2 separate regions of the Homo sapiens genome follow, and region 1 is linked to region 2. Evidence: promoter capture Hi-C in 16 types of primary human blood cells and fetal thymus (Javierre and others, 2016). All regions are on one chromosome and are shown on one strand. The core of a region is centred on a gene start or on the middle of the fragment in contact, and the rest is flanking DNA. Distances in the headings are between cores, read along the strand shown. Region 1 overlaps TLE1-DT (TLE1 divergent transcript). Region 2 holds the start of TLE4 (TLE family member 4, transcriptional corepressor).

Region 1 (5,602 bases), core at 1,122-3,621, 2.1 Mb before region 2:
GTCTCGAACTCCTGACTTCGTGATCCACCAGCCTCGGCCTCCCAAGTGCTGGGATTACAGGCGTGAGCCACTGCGGCTGGCCTCATACTTTTTCTTTTTTCTTTTTTTACTAGAAACATTACAAGTAAATCTTTTAACTATGAAGTGAATTCCATTATAATGCACAAAAAAAAGAGATGTAGACAATGAACCTAGAATTGTTTTCCCAGACTTTTCATCATGAAAAATTTTCAAACATAGAAATATTGAAAGAATAGTAAAATGAATAGCTATAGACATTATCCTGAAATTCTGTAATGGTTAACACATTGCCAAATTTGCTTTCTTTTTCTCTCTCTACATACACTTTTTATTTGCAGTTGCAGGTGTTATTTGAAGTTGTATGCTTCACCATCTATCTTCTCAGAATAACATCTTCCAAAATAACCACAATATTCTAACATCAAAAAAAGGAGAAGCATAATTCTATACTATCTATAAATATCCAGTCCAAATTAAAGTTGCCCAAGACATCTTGCATGTTTTTTTTTTAAATCCAGGGGCCAATAAAGATTTACACATTGCTTTTTCATTATATATCTTTGTTTTTAAGGAATAGTCCTTCCCCACTTCTCTCCTGTCTCTCTCGACATTAACTTTTTAAATAGCTCAGGCTAGCTGTCCTGTAGAATGTCCCAACATTCTGTATTTATTCCATTTAACTTGCTCAACTAGACTTAAAGTTTGTATTCTGGAAACGTGAAGGTACCTGGAACATACACTTGCACTCTAGTCCCCTTCCCATCCCGAGAGTTCGCCTGCCTTCAGCTCTGAAGAACATCTGAAGATCATCAATTAGTTGAACTCAAGCTTTAACCCTTCAATGATATGGCTGGCTTCAGGAAGAAAAGTTATTTAAATGATGCTGCCAAAGTGAAAGCTTTTAAAGGAAAAGGAAAGATGTCTCAGTTTAAAGTTGATTTCCTAGCAAGTCCTTGGCCTGCAGCAAAGGTGGCTCAAGCAGAGAACATTAAGGGGCCCAGGTCTGCTCTTGTTATGTGAATATGTAGGAAGGAGCATCAAAGGTGCTTCCTTTACTTTTTTCTTTTTTCTACCAAATGCTCTTCAGCTTCAGTCGAGCTAAATGCTAAACTGAATGAATTTTTTTAAAAAGTGTATAATCCCAACTTTCCTCAGACTTTAGAACGGGTTAAAAAAATAAAAAGAAGGCCGGGCGCGGTGGCTCACGCCTGTAATCCCAGCACTTTGGGAGGCCGAGGCGGGTGGATCACAAGGTCAGGAGATTGAGACCATCCTGGCTAACACGGTGAAACCCCGCCTTGACTAAAAATTCAAAAAATTAGCCGGGTGTGGTGGCGGGCGCCTGTAATTCCAGCTACCCCGGAGGCTGAGGCAGGAGAATGGCGTGAACGCGGGAGGCGGAGGTTGCAGTGAGCTGAGATCGCGCCACTGCACTCCAGCCTGGGCGACAGAGCGAGACTCCGTCTCAAAGAGGGGCAGGACAAACTTCACTGAGATCTTTTATTATGGTCTGAACTCCAGGCAGTGTTTCATCGAGCCCCAAAATACTGTTCTTGCTTTTCCGGGGCATCTCGCTGGTAGACAGGGAAAGCTCTGGCAGAAAGGCCCTCTGCTTGAACTACTTCAAAGAAACTAATCATGAATATATCCTATTGGTGTGAAAATCCCAAATTAATCAGGTAACATTAATACATAGGAGTGTGCCGTACATATGCATTAGTTGTAAACAGACTTGGTCGGGCGTGGTGGCTCACACCTGTAATCCTAGCACTTTGGGAGGCCGAGGCAGGCAGATCACGAGGTCAGGAGTTCGAGAACAGCCTGGCCAACACGGTGAAACCCTGTCTCTACTAAAAATACAAAAATTAGCTGGATGTGGTGGTGGGCGCCTGTAATCCCAGCTACTCGGGAGGCTGAGGTAGGAGAATTGCTTGAACCTGGGAGGCGGAGGTTGCAGTGAGCTGAGATCGTGCCACTGCACTCCAGCCTGGGTGACAGAGCAAGACTCTGTCTTGGGGGGAGGGGAAAAAAAGATGTAAACAGACTTAGTAAGGGGCATTAACAGGCAGAAGAACGTCGTACAATGGGATTTATATCTGCACTGCTATGATTGCTTATAAACACATGCTATTTTAGACTGATATCTTTCTTGAAATATAGACTTAAGTAAACAAAAGTTCGGCCGCAGCTGAGGTGGTGTTCTTCTGCAAGCCTCAGACACAGTCAAGCTTTTTTACAAACGTGATTGGTGGGCTAAGAAGTTTATCCGCCTGGTTCCTCAAATTCCCAAACAGTTTATTTGAATACTGAGTGAATAGCTAATCTGGTACAAGTTCTGGGGCTTTAACAAGGTAAACGAATGGGTGGGCTGTGAAAGTAAACACTGCATTTCCTCCCAGGCTCACCCTAGCTTCCAAAATTCCTCTCCCTCACTCCTTTCACTCTCCCCAGCCTTCTAGTTCCCAAGCTTGGTCTCTCGTATCCTGTAAAAGTACTGAAATTGCAAAGGAGACATTTTTAATTATAAGTACTACAGTAACGAATTCAAGTACACTCGTTTATCATAAAGGGCTTTCCCATCTGTCTCTAAAGTATACTTAAAAATGCTGTGTATTTGATAACATTAGCACCAAGCATCTTCCACATGTTAATATCCAGTGTTTTAGATGTTCGCTCCCCCCACCTCAAAAGACCGCACAGTGCTGGTTCCAGAAAGAGAACATTTATCTCTCCATGTTTGGGAGTGCCTGTGTGGTCTCTTCCTACTTTATTTGCACTCCAATCCTTGGGGATCTCATCGCAATCCCCCTAGGCAAAGGGAGATTAGGGAATAGGGCTTTCTGCTTCTCCCCACTCTGACAGAGAAGGGAAAACAACTTCCCCAAGTCCCTCAAGTTCTTCTGGCCACAGTACAAATTGTTCTTGAGCATGGAGGGCTTCCAAAAGCCCTAATTAGCAACTCACAGCAAACATTTCTTTGCATTAGCTAATGATCCGGCTGCACTTGTAAGCAAACAGAACCAACATATCTAATCAATGCTGAAAAACCAACCAAATGCCTATTAAACATCTGGATGTAATTTTCTAGTTAGAACAAAATGAAAACATATGCAGGTTCCTTTGATCTTCGTCTTAACAAAGAAATTGTTGATAAAAAAGCATACTGGTCAGTCAATGTGTCATTTTCATAAAGTCTGCTCATTTCTCTTCAAATGCTCCCAGTTTAATTTAGTTGGTTTCCTGCAATCTCTAATTTTACCATATTGTGTGAAACCGCAAGAGATTCTTTGGAAGTGATTTTATTTGAGGTTTTACTGCTGCATGGATCTGCTACTGATTTTTTTTCCCTTCTCTGCGTTCTTCCTTTCACCTCCACGTCCATCTTGCCCTTTTCTTTGGTAAAGGAGTGGGGGAGAAAAAGATTACCAAGAAATGCTGGGAAAAATTCTTCTGGACCCTACATTCTTAGGTTTAAGAAAACTATCAATTAAAAAAAAAAAAAGGTGGGGCGGGGTGGCTCACGCTTGTAATCCCGGCACTTTGGGAGGCCAAGGCGGTCGGATCACCTGATGTTAGAAGTTCGAGACCAGCCTGGCCAACATGGTGAAACCCTGTCTCCGCTAAAAATACAAAAATTAGCCGGGCGTGGTGGTACACGCCTGTTATCCCAGCTGCTCAGGAGACTGAGGCACATGAATCGCTTGAACCTCGGAGGCGGAGGTTGCAACGAGCTGAGATCGCACCACTGCACTCCAGCTTGGGTGACAGAGCGAGATGCTGACTCAAAAAAAAAAAAAAAGTCAAATGAGGAAATGTATGAGCAATAATTCTCAGCTAAAAGGAAGAGAACACAACAAAAGTGGTCTGTTAAAAACTATAATTATTGGCCAGGTGTGGTGGTGCATGCCTGTAATCCCAGCACTTTGGGAGGCTGAGGAGGGCGGATCACGAGGTCAGGAGTTTGAGACCAGCCTGGCCAACAAGGCGAAACCCCGTCTATACTAAAAATATAAAAATTAGCCGGGTGTGGTGGCACACGCCTGTAGTCCCAGCTACTGGGGAGGCTGAGGCAGGAGAATCTCGAACCCAAGAGGCAGAGGTTGCAGTGAGCTGAGATGGCACCACTGCACTTCAGCCTGGGAGACAGAGTGAGACTCCGTCTCCAAAAAAAATTAAAAAATTACAATTATTATTTCAAATAAAAAAGTAATAGATTTAAAAGATGTCTAGTTGCTACGATCAGCATCTATAACTTTTCCTATTTTGTTTAGTATCTGTACTAGATAACATCTAGCTTTTGTAATTACTTAGGCTATTGCTGAGTTGAAAATTTGATAATCAGCAACAAATGAATGGGAATATACCCACATATGCATCAAAAGAAAATGAACAAGCTGACAATCTTTCTGTTTCTCTGCAGAGCATAAAAAGGGTACTGTGTTTTTCAGAGAAAATTTCCAGTGGGAGCATCATACATTTCACATAAAAACATCATTGACATATGAATGTTAAAGGTAAAGAAGATTATGGTTAACAGGCTTTAAATGGAAGACCAAAATTATAGATTTCATGAGGAGGACTATTTTCTTTTAAACAGGCTGTAGGCAATCTGCACATATATTATTTATTTAAAACATAAGATTAAAGCTACTTGACTGTTTAAACGCCGTCATTTGTAATGCAGTTTGATGAGAGTTTTGTAGTATAATTATTACAGCATGACAATCGTGGAGAAAATATGACCTTGAAAAGGGCAGAGCCTTCTCCCACTCTGACAGACGATGCTCTAAATGGGAAAAAAAGGCTTCAAAAACCAAAACCAACCATTTTTATGCACACAATTAAAGGCCTTCCAATTTTAAATTCATAATGCTCTGTAGATACTACAGATACTTCATTATAAGGAAATCAGAAGGCCTGGTGTTTCAAACTCTATTGGCAAGGAAAGACTAGTTAAAAGAGAATTTCTAGTGTTTACTCATGGCAAACTGGGAAATATGGTGAGCAGACACATTGTCTGTGAGTAGTTATGTTAGAGAACATTTAAAGATGCCTTAGTACTGATTTTGAGGGCAGCGGGGTGGGGAAAGAAGAGAAGTAGCAACACTTTTGCCCCATCTCAAAGCATATTTTAATGGCTCTGTTTAAACTTAATGGGAGTGTGCCAGTTATTCAAGATACAGGCACCACATAAAGCCTGGGTAAGCCGGGGAGGAATATCAGTTGCTCCAGTTGTCACAGCATGTATACAAGCATACTTGTGGCATCCAAGCACTTTCTGTCCGGTCCTGGAGCTGATTATGGGATGAACTGGCCGCAGACTGGTATATGTGGCTCAATCACTAGATAATTTCAAGGAAAACAGGTTGCTAAAGGCCCTGGGATCCTATGATTCCAAAAAGTCCTGTATGTCGAGCAAAACTGTCATCGTCACCAAATTTAACCAAGGAAAGTGAGGCAGTGCTTTCTTCTTTTTTGTTCTCCATGTTAGCAAAATGAATAATACAGCCGCCTTCCCAACTGTACTTAATGAGAACACCACAAAGCTACAATGCCCAACTTGTTTAAGAATTTACTATGG
Region 2 (5,725 bases), core at 110-2,609:
GCTGCGGTCAGGCCGGGGGAGGAGGGAGGCGGCCGCCACCCTCTCGGCTCGTTCGTTCGCCCGCTCGCCCCGGCGGCCCGCGGCGCGAGGGGCCGGCGCCCCGCACTTCCAAACCGCAGCCAGCCCAGCAGCGCCGCTGCCGAGGGCGCCCTCCCCGCCCGGGCGCGGAGTCGCGCCTCCTTCATCGCTCGCCACCCCCCCTCGAGGAGTCGCGGCGCGGGGACCGCAAACGGCTCGGCGCGGCTTCCAGGGGCTTCAAAGACAACAATAAGAAAATGGCTACAACTCAATTGCCTCTCCGCACCCCCTCCGAGGGCCACCGCGCCGGGGGGTGGGGGTGATGGCGGGCGGGCTGCTCCCGGCGCGGGGCGCCGATTTCGGGCGGCTCTCCACGCCCCTCCGGCCAAAAGACACAACTCGGTGCGCAGGGGGCGACGCGGGGAATCCCCCAGCACCCGGCGAGCCCGCGCCCCGCCGCCCGCACTCACTGGGTGTCTGGTCTGCGGGTACATCTTGCTCAGGTCGCGAATCATCCAAGCCGATTTAGTTGGCTGCGCTCGGCAGAGGCGCGCGGCTCATTGGCTTTAATGACCCCGAAGAGGAGGCGGCCGCGGCAGCGGAGGCGGCCGGCTCGGTCTGAGGGGCGGCTCGGGCGGTCCCGGCCCCCGCCGGGTCTCGCGTGACACGGGCGGCAGGAACGCGCGGCGGCGGCTGGGTGCCGGCTGCCGGGCCGCTCCGCATTCCCCGCGGGCGTCACTGGCCCGCCGCGGGCATTGTCCGGCGCGCGTCTCCCAAGGCAACGCTCCGACGTTCGCTCCGCCGAGGCGCACCCGCCGAGCCCGGCGCCGCGGCCGCCGCTCACCCGGCCGGGAAAGTGCGGGCTCCGCGCCCCACCGCCCGCCGGCAGCTCCTCTCGCTCGCTCTGCGTCCCACTCCAAACTTTTTTTATTTGTCTTTTAATTGGTTGTTATTCCTCCGAATGAATGATCTTTCTTCTTCCCTAAAAGCAAACACAAACTCCTTTGGTTCGGAAGAGGTCTCGGCGGTGCTTTTTGGTTTCTCTGGAGATTTTTTTCACTTCACAGCAACGATCTTTTAAAAGGCACCTTTTAGCTTCTTTTACCACATCTCATTTCCTTATTTCTCTTCCTTCCTGTTTTCTTGTCTTTTTTTTAACCCCAAATTGAAGGGGATTATAAAAATAAAAGAGTGAAACGCTTGCGGCTTTTTTTTTTAATTCTCTCTCCTTTCAAACTCTGCGAACACCACCTCAAAATAATATACAAGTGTGTGAGAAAGGGGGAAGAAAGCAGCCAACAACCCAAACACCCGCTCAGCACAGCTCTAACAACACGCTCTGTGTAGGTGACTTCTTTGACCAAATTTAGCAGCAGCTAATCATTAACATTCTGATACATATTCACAATCTTCCGCGGGGCGGCCGCGCAGCATCCCGGGAGATGTAGTCCGCCCCGGGCGACCCTGCCTGAGAATACGGCCAGATTGACTACAATCACCGGCCCGCCATGCGAGCGCTCTGGCGAGCTCTCCAAGCGCCCCGCCCACCCCCGTTGCGGTAGGCGTCTCCACCAACCAATCAGAGGTGGCTGAACATTAATCGCCGTTCTGTGTTAGTGCCCATCATTTCACTGCTGACAAATGGCAAGCCAGCGGGGAGGAGCCAACCCAGCTGAAACCCACGTGGGGGCCGGGCGTCGCCTGTAGCTCCGACCAATTAACGAAGAGGAATGAGGTTGGCGGAGGCGGGGCGGAGATGGCCCGCCCAAGGCGGAGCTTCGCCTTGGCTGACGTTCCTTAGCGCGAGCGTTCGAACCGGGAAAACATTTGTTCAGCTGTCAATCAAAGTAACGTGGGGCTGGGAGAATCGGCGGCTGCTGCTGTTGCTGCTGCCCTGGCTGCATCTTCAGAATTAGGTGTTGGTGGTGGTGGTGGTGGTGGCGGCAAAATAAAGAGGGTGGAGGGAGCGGTGAGCCTGGGGGCTGGTCAAAAGATCTTCTTCCGAGTCTCGTCCTCCCGCCCACCCGTCTCCCAACCCAGACACCTTCGGCCCCTCGCTCCGCAGCCGCGCCAGGAATGCGGACTAATTAGGGTCCAATGTCTCCTTAAAGAGACAAGCTCGGCCTTGTGTAACGCGCCGAAACCCCTGTTGAGACAAGAGGGGGAGGATCACGCTGATCTTACTTCGTTCGGTTCACATCAATTTTACGCGCCGCTGGAGCCGGCATAATTTTCCGTGTGAACGCGACTCGGTCCCCGTTCTTGTTTAGAGCCAGAAATGGAGTCGCGAGATGCTGGCTGGGGCCGGGGCCGCGGGGTGGGCGGGGAGCTCGTCCCTCCAAGCCCCGCGGGGGCTGTGATTGCCATTTAGTTCCGAAACAGGCCTCCCTCCCTCCACCCCCGGAGGCACTCGGAGAGAAAGCGCATCCCGACGCTCCATCGGGGGTCGCGGGGGGCAGTAACCGTGGGGGCTCCGGGTGGGGCTGAAGATCCGGGAATCAGAGACGCTGGACCTCCAAAGAAACTTTGCCGACTGGGCCACGTGAACCCCGAACACGGTCGGTACTGAACAGAGCAGGCCGACGGGGCACGGGTAGAAAACGCCCCTGCGCGCCCTGGGACGTTCCCTCCCCCAGATCAGTACCAAGACTGCGCCTCTTTTTCCCGCTCTTTGGAGAAGCAAGTCAAGTTTATCCCCGTTAAAAACAGAGCAGGGTGCCACGCGGGCCCGAGAGATGGCGGAAAGGTGGGGGTGGCCCCAGGGGCAGATGCTGGAGGAGGAGAGAAAGGGGCAGCCATGGCTGAGGAGGGGCACCCCTAGGGAGGGGCCTGGGAAATGGGGGCGGCCTCCGTCAGTGCGCCTTTCCATCCTTAGTCCGTGTCCAGCTGGAGGCAGCGCCCCAGTTCAAGGGGAGGCTGCTGAGGCTCGCAGTCTTTTCTAGCGAGCGGCTAATCTTGGGGACAGGGAAAAAATTCGGAAAAAGTCAAGAAGAGTGTTGGCTAATGTAACAGGCTGGGTTTTAGACGTTTATTTCTATGCGTGCTTGCCTACTGTAACTTGACCTGTTGGTTGAGATGGTGCCGCCGGTTCGGCGTTAGTGGAAAACTATTCTTCTTAATGATATCCCTTTCCTCAGTGGATGACTCGGTGACTTAATGTCCAACCTAGCACGTTCTGTGAACCTCCTTCCGTTCTGGCCACTGTAGTGAGCTGGTGCAAAGGAAGGCTATGGTGGTCTTCACCTGCCTCTAATTTCATACTAAAAACCCAGAGCCAAAGTTCACAGAATGTTTCAATTCGGCAAATATTTTCGCCTCCATCCCCAAAATAAGAGGACAGAGAAGTCCTTTTGACAGTTTTCTGAACCTCTGCTGTTCCATACCTAGCCACATGTGACTGTTAAGCACTTGAAATGTGTCCAATTCAAAATGAGATGTGCTGTAAGTACACATATATGTGGCATTTTGAAAAAATTAATGTGAAAAAACTGCAGCTCAATAATTTATAATTATGTCAAAATTGTGATATTTTGAATAACTCAATTAAAAATATTAGTAAAATTAATTTTGTCTGTTTCTATTTATTTATTGTATTGATGGGGGTCTTCCTGTGTTGCCTAGGCTGGCCTCAAACTCTGAAGCTCAAGCTATCCTCCTGCCTGAGCCTCCAGTGTTGTTGGGACTGCAGGCACACACTTTTTTTTTTTTTTTTTTTTTTTTTTGAGACAGAGTTTCGCTCTTGTTGCCCAGGCTGGAGTGCAATGGCACGATCTCGGCTCACCGCAACCTCCGCCTCCTGGGTTCAAGCGATTCTCCTTCCTCAGCCTCCCGAGTAGCTAGGATTACAGGCATGCGCCACCACACCCAGCTAATTTTTTGTATTTTTAGTAGAGACGGGGTTTCTCCATGTTGGTCAGGCTGGTCTTGAACTCCTGACCTCAGGTGATCCGTCCGCCTCGGCCTCCCAAAGTGCTTGGATTACAGGCGTGAGCCACCGTGCCCAGCCTCTTTTTACTTTTTTAACTTTGTTCCTAGAAGATTTTAAATTATGAGGCTTACATATTTCCATTAGACAGCCCTGCCCTGAAACCTTCCCAAGAATCAAAAGTGAGAAGACTTTAGTGATACAATTTGCACACGAGGACAGCGAAGTTTCTAAGAACACCAGCAACAACCATGTTTTATTCTAAGGTTGGTTAGTTGCTTGCTCCCACTAGAGCTTTTCAATGGTTTGTGAAATCACCCACAGTGCCTCTGTAGGAAGTTCCATGTTCTCTATTTTAGCCAGAATGTTAGCAAGTTCCATGAGAACAGGGACCTGGTTGTGTTCACAGTTGCACTCCAAACTCCCCAAATTATGTCTGCCATCACTGTCTGGTAGTTGGTGCTCAGTAAATATTTGTTGATGGCATTAATGAATGAATACCTCATTGCATCCTTATAGGAAGTTTCCACATCATTTGGGTCATATTTATTGAAATTCTGTGCAGTTTTCTCTCAGGACAGGAAACGAGAATTCTAAGAATAGAACCCGAAGAACTATTGAAAGGGTCAGTGGACAAAGAGGAAACTTTGCTCTGTTAGGAAATATCAGATCACTTATAGCAAGGATCTTTCCCCTAATCTCTCTCGATGGTTTGTGTCAACAGGAAAGTGGCTAGAGAAGTCAAGATGTTTCTTTATTTTTTAAGTTCTGTATTAAAATATAGCCCTTGGATGTGTTTCACATTTTGGCCACGTGGCAGAGCTATGTAACTCACCTCAATGTCTCAGAAAGATGCAAATGCAGCAACTGGCGGCCCAGCCCTAGCCGTAACACAGACTGTAAGTGGGGCTCATGGCCACTTTTTCTCCTTTTCTCTGCTGTGCTTCTCTCATTGCACTTCTCGCTAACTGTTGAGCCAAGCTATGATGTTATCTGGAGGCCTGTCTTATCCCTACCACAGAGTGGGGGGTAGGTGGGGTGTTCCAGAGTTTTCATGTGGGAGGCACTTGGCAGCAACTTTCATGTTAAAAGCTAGGCCTGAAAGCTCCAATCTTGAAGTGACATATGCCAAGCATGCTTTTCACTTTGGTTAGATGTAAATCATTTATTTATTACTTCACCAAATATTTATTAAACCTACTATGTGCCAGAATATGGGGATTTCACAATAAAAGTGGCTATTATTAATATGTTGCCTCTTAGCTCCAAATTCATCCTCATTGCCTGCCTAGTGAAACTGAATCTGAGCCCTTTAAATATTTTCCAGCTGTTAAAAAAGCTAGGTCAATAGAAGGCGCTGGAGAGACATTGCAGGAGGAAAGGGTTTGGTTTCCTGGTTCCTGGCTCTGGTTGCATACTGGGCAGGTTCCTACAGCACAGGTAGCAAGCAGCAGCACCCAGCAGCCAGCAGCTTCCTCCAGAAGCCCCTTAGGTGGCTTTGGAGCAAGTGCCTCTAATGAGTCACCTCCCTCAGCAGCTTTCCTTGGAACCCCAGAGAATGGATTTCCAACGAGTTCTGGAATGTGGATTTCTAGCAAGTTCCAGAAGGCAGAATTCTAGCAGGGCTCTCCTGCTATTCAGAAAGTTACAACTGTGCCCTCTCCAGCAAAGTCTGGATCTCAGCCAGCCCTAAGAGTGTGTCTGTGTCTTGGAGGAGCTCTTTTTGAGATGCTGTATCTCAGCCCTAGGGTTAGTAAGTAGCTGTTCCTTATATCTCTATTT

Evidence for each region. The method cuts DNA at HindIII sites, captures the fragments that hold promoters and counts their contacts. A CHiCAGO score of 5 or more calls a contact.
Region 1: a fragment that was not itself captured here is called in contact with the fragment with the promoter of TLE4 in region 2 in 1 of 17 cell types (total B cells); the score reaches 6.9 in total B cells.

What each region holds. Positions count from the first base shown.
Region 1 is chr9:81,691,412-81,697,013 of GRCh38, reverse strand. The region is part of intron 1 of TLE1-DT (TLE1 divergent transcript); the gene reads right to left. Among named protein-coding and RNA genes, the nearest start is that of TLE1-DT, 4.5 kb to the right of the region's middle. The HindIII fragment of the contact is 239 bases long and covers 2,252-2,490 here.
Region 2 is chr9:79,567,599-79,573,323 of GRCh38, reverse strand. It overlaps TLE4 (TLE family member 4, transcriptional corepressor), which reads right to left and starts at 1,359. Exons shown (of 20, transcript NM_007005.6): 1 at 489-1,359. The coding sequence starts at 533. LNCARSR (lncRNA regulator of Akt signaling associated with HCC and RCC) reads left to right here and starts at 5,372. Exons shown (of 3, transcript NR_184113.1): 1 at 5,372-5,692. RefSeq lists enhancers at 1-430, 1,158-1,247, 1,288-1,337, 1,348-1,477 and silencers at 8-477, 588-747, 808-927, 2,838-2,887. The HindIII fragment of the contact is 12,449 bases long and covers 1-5,725 here.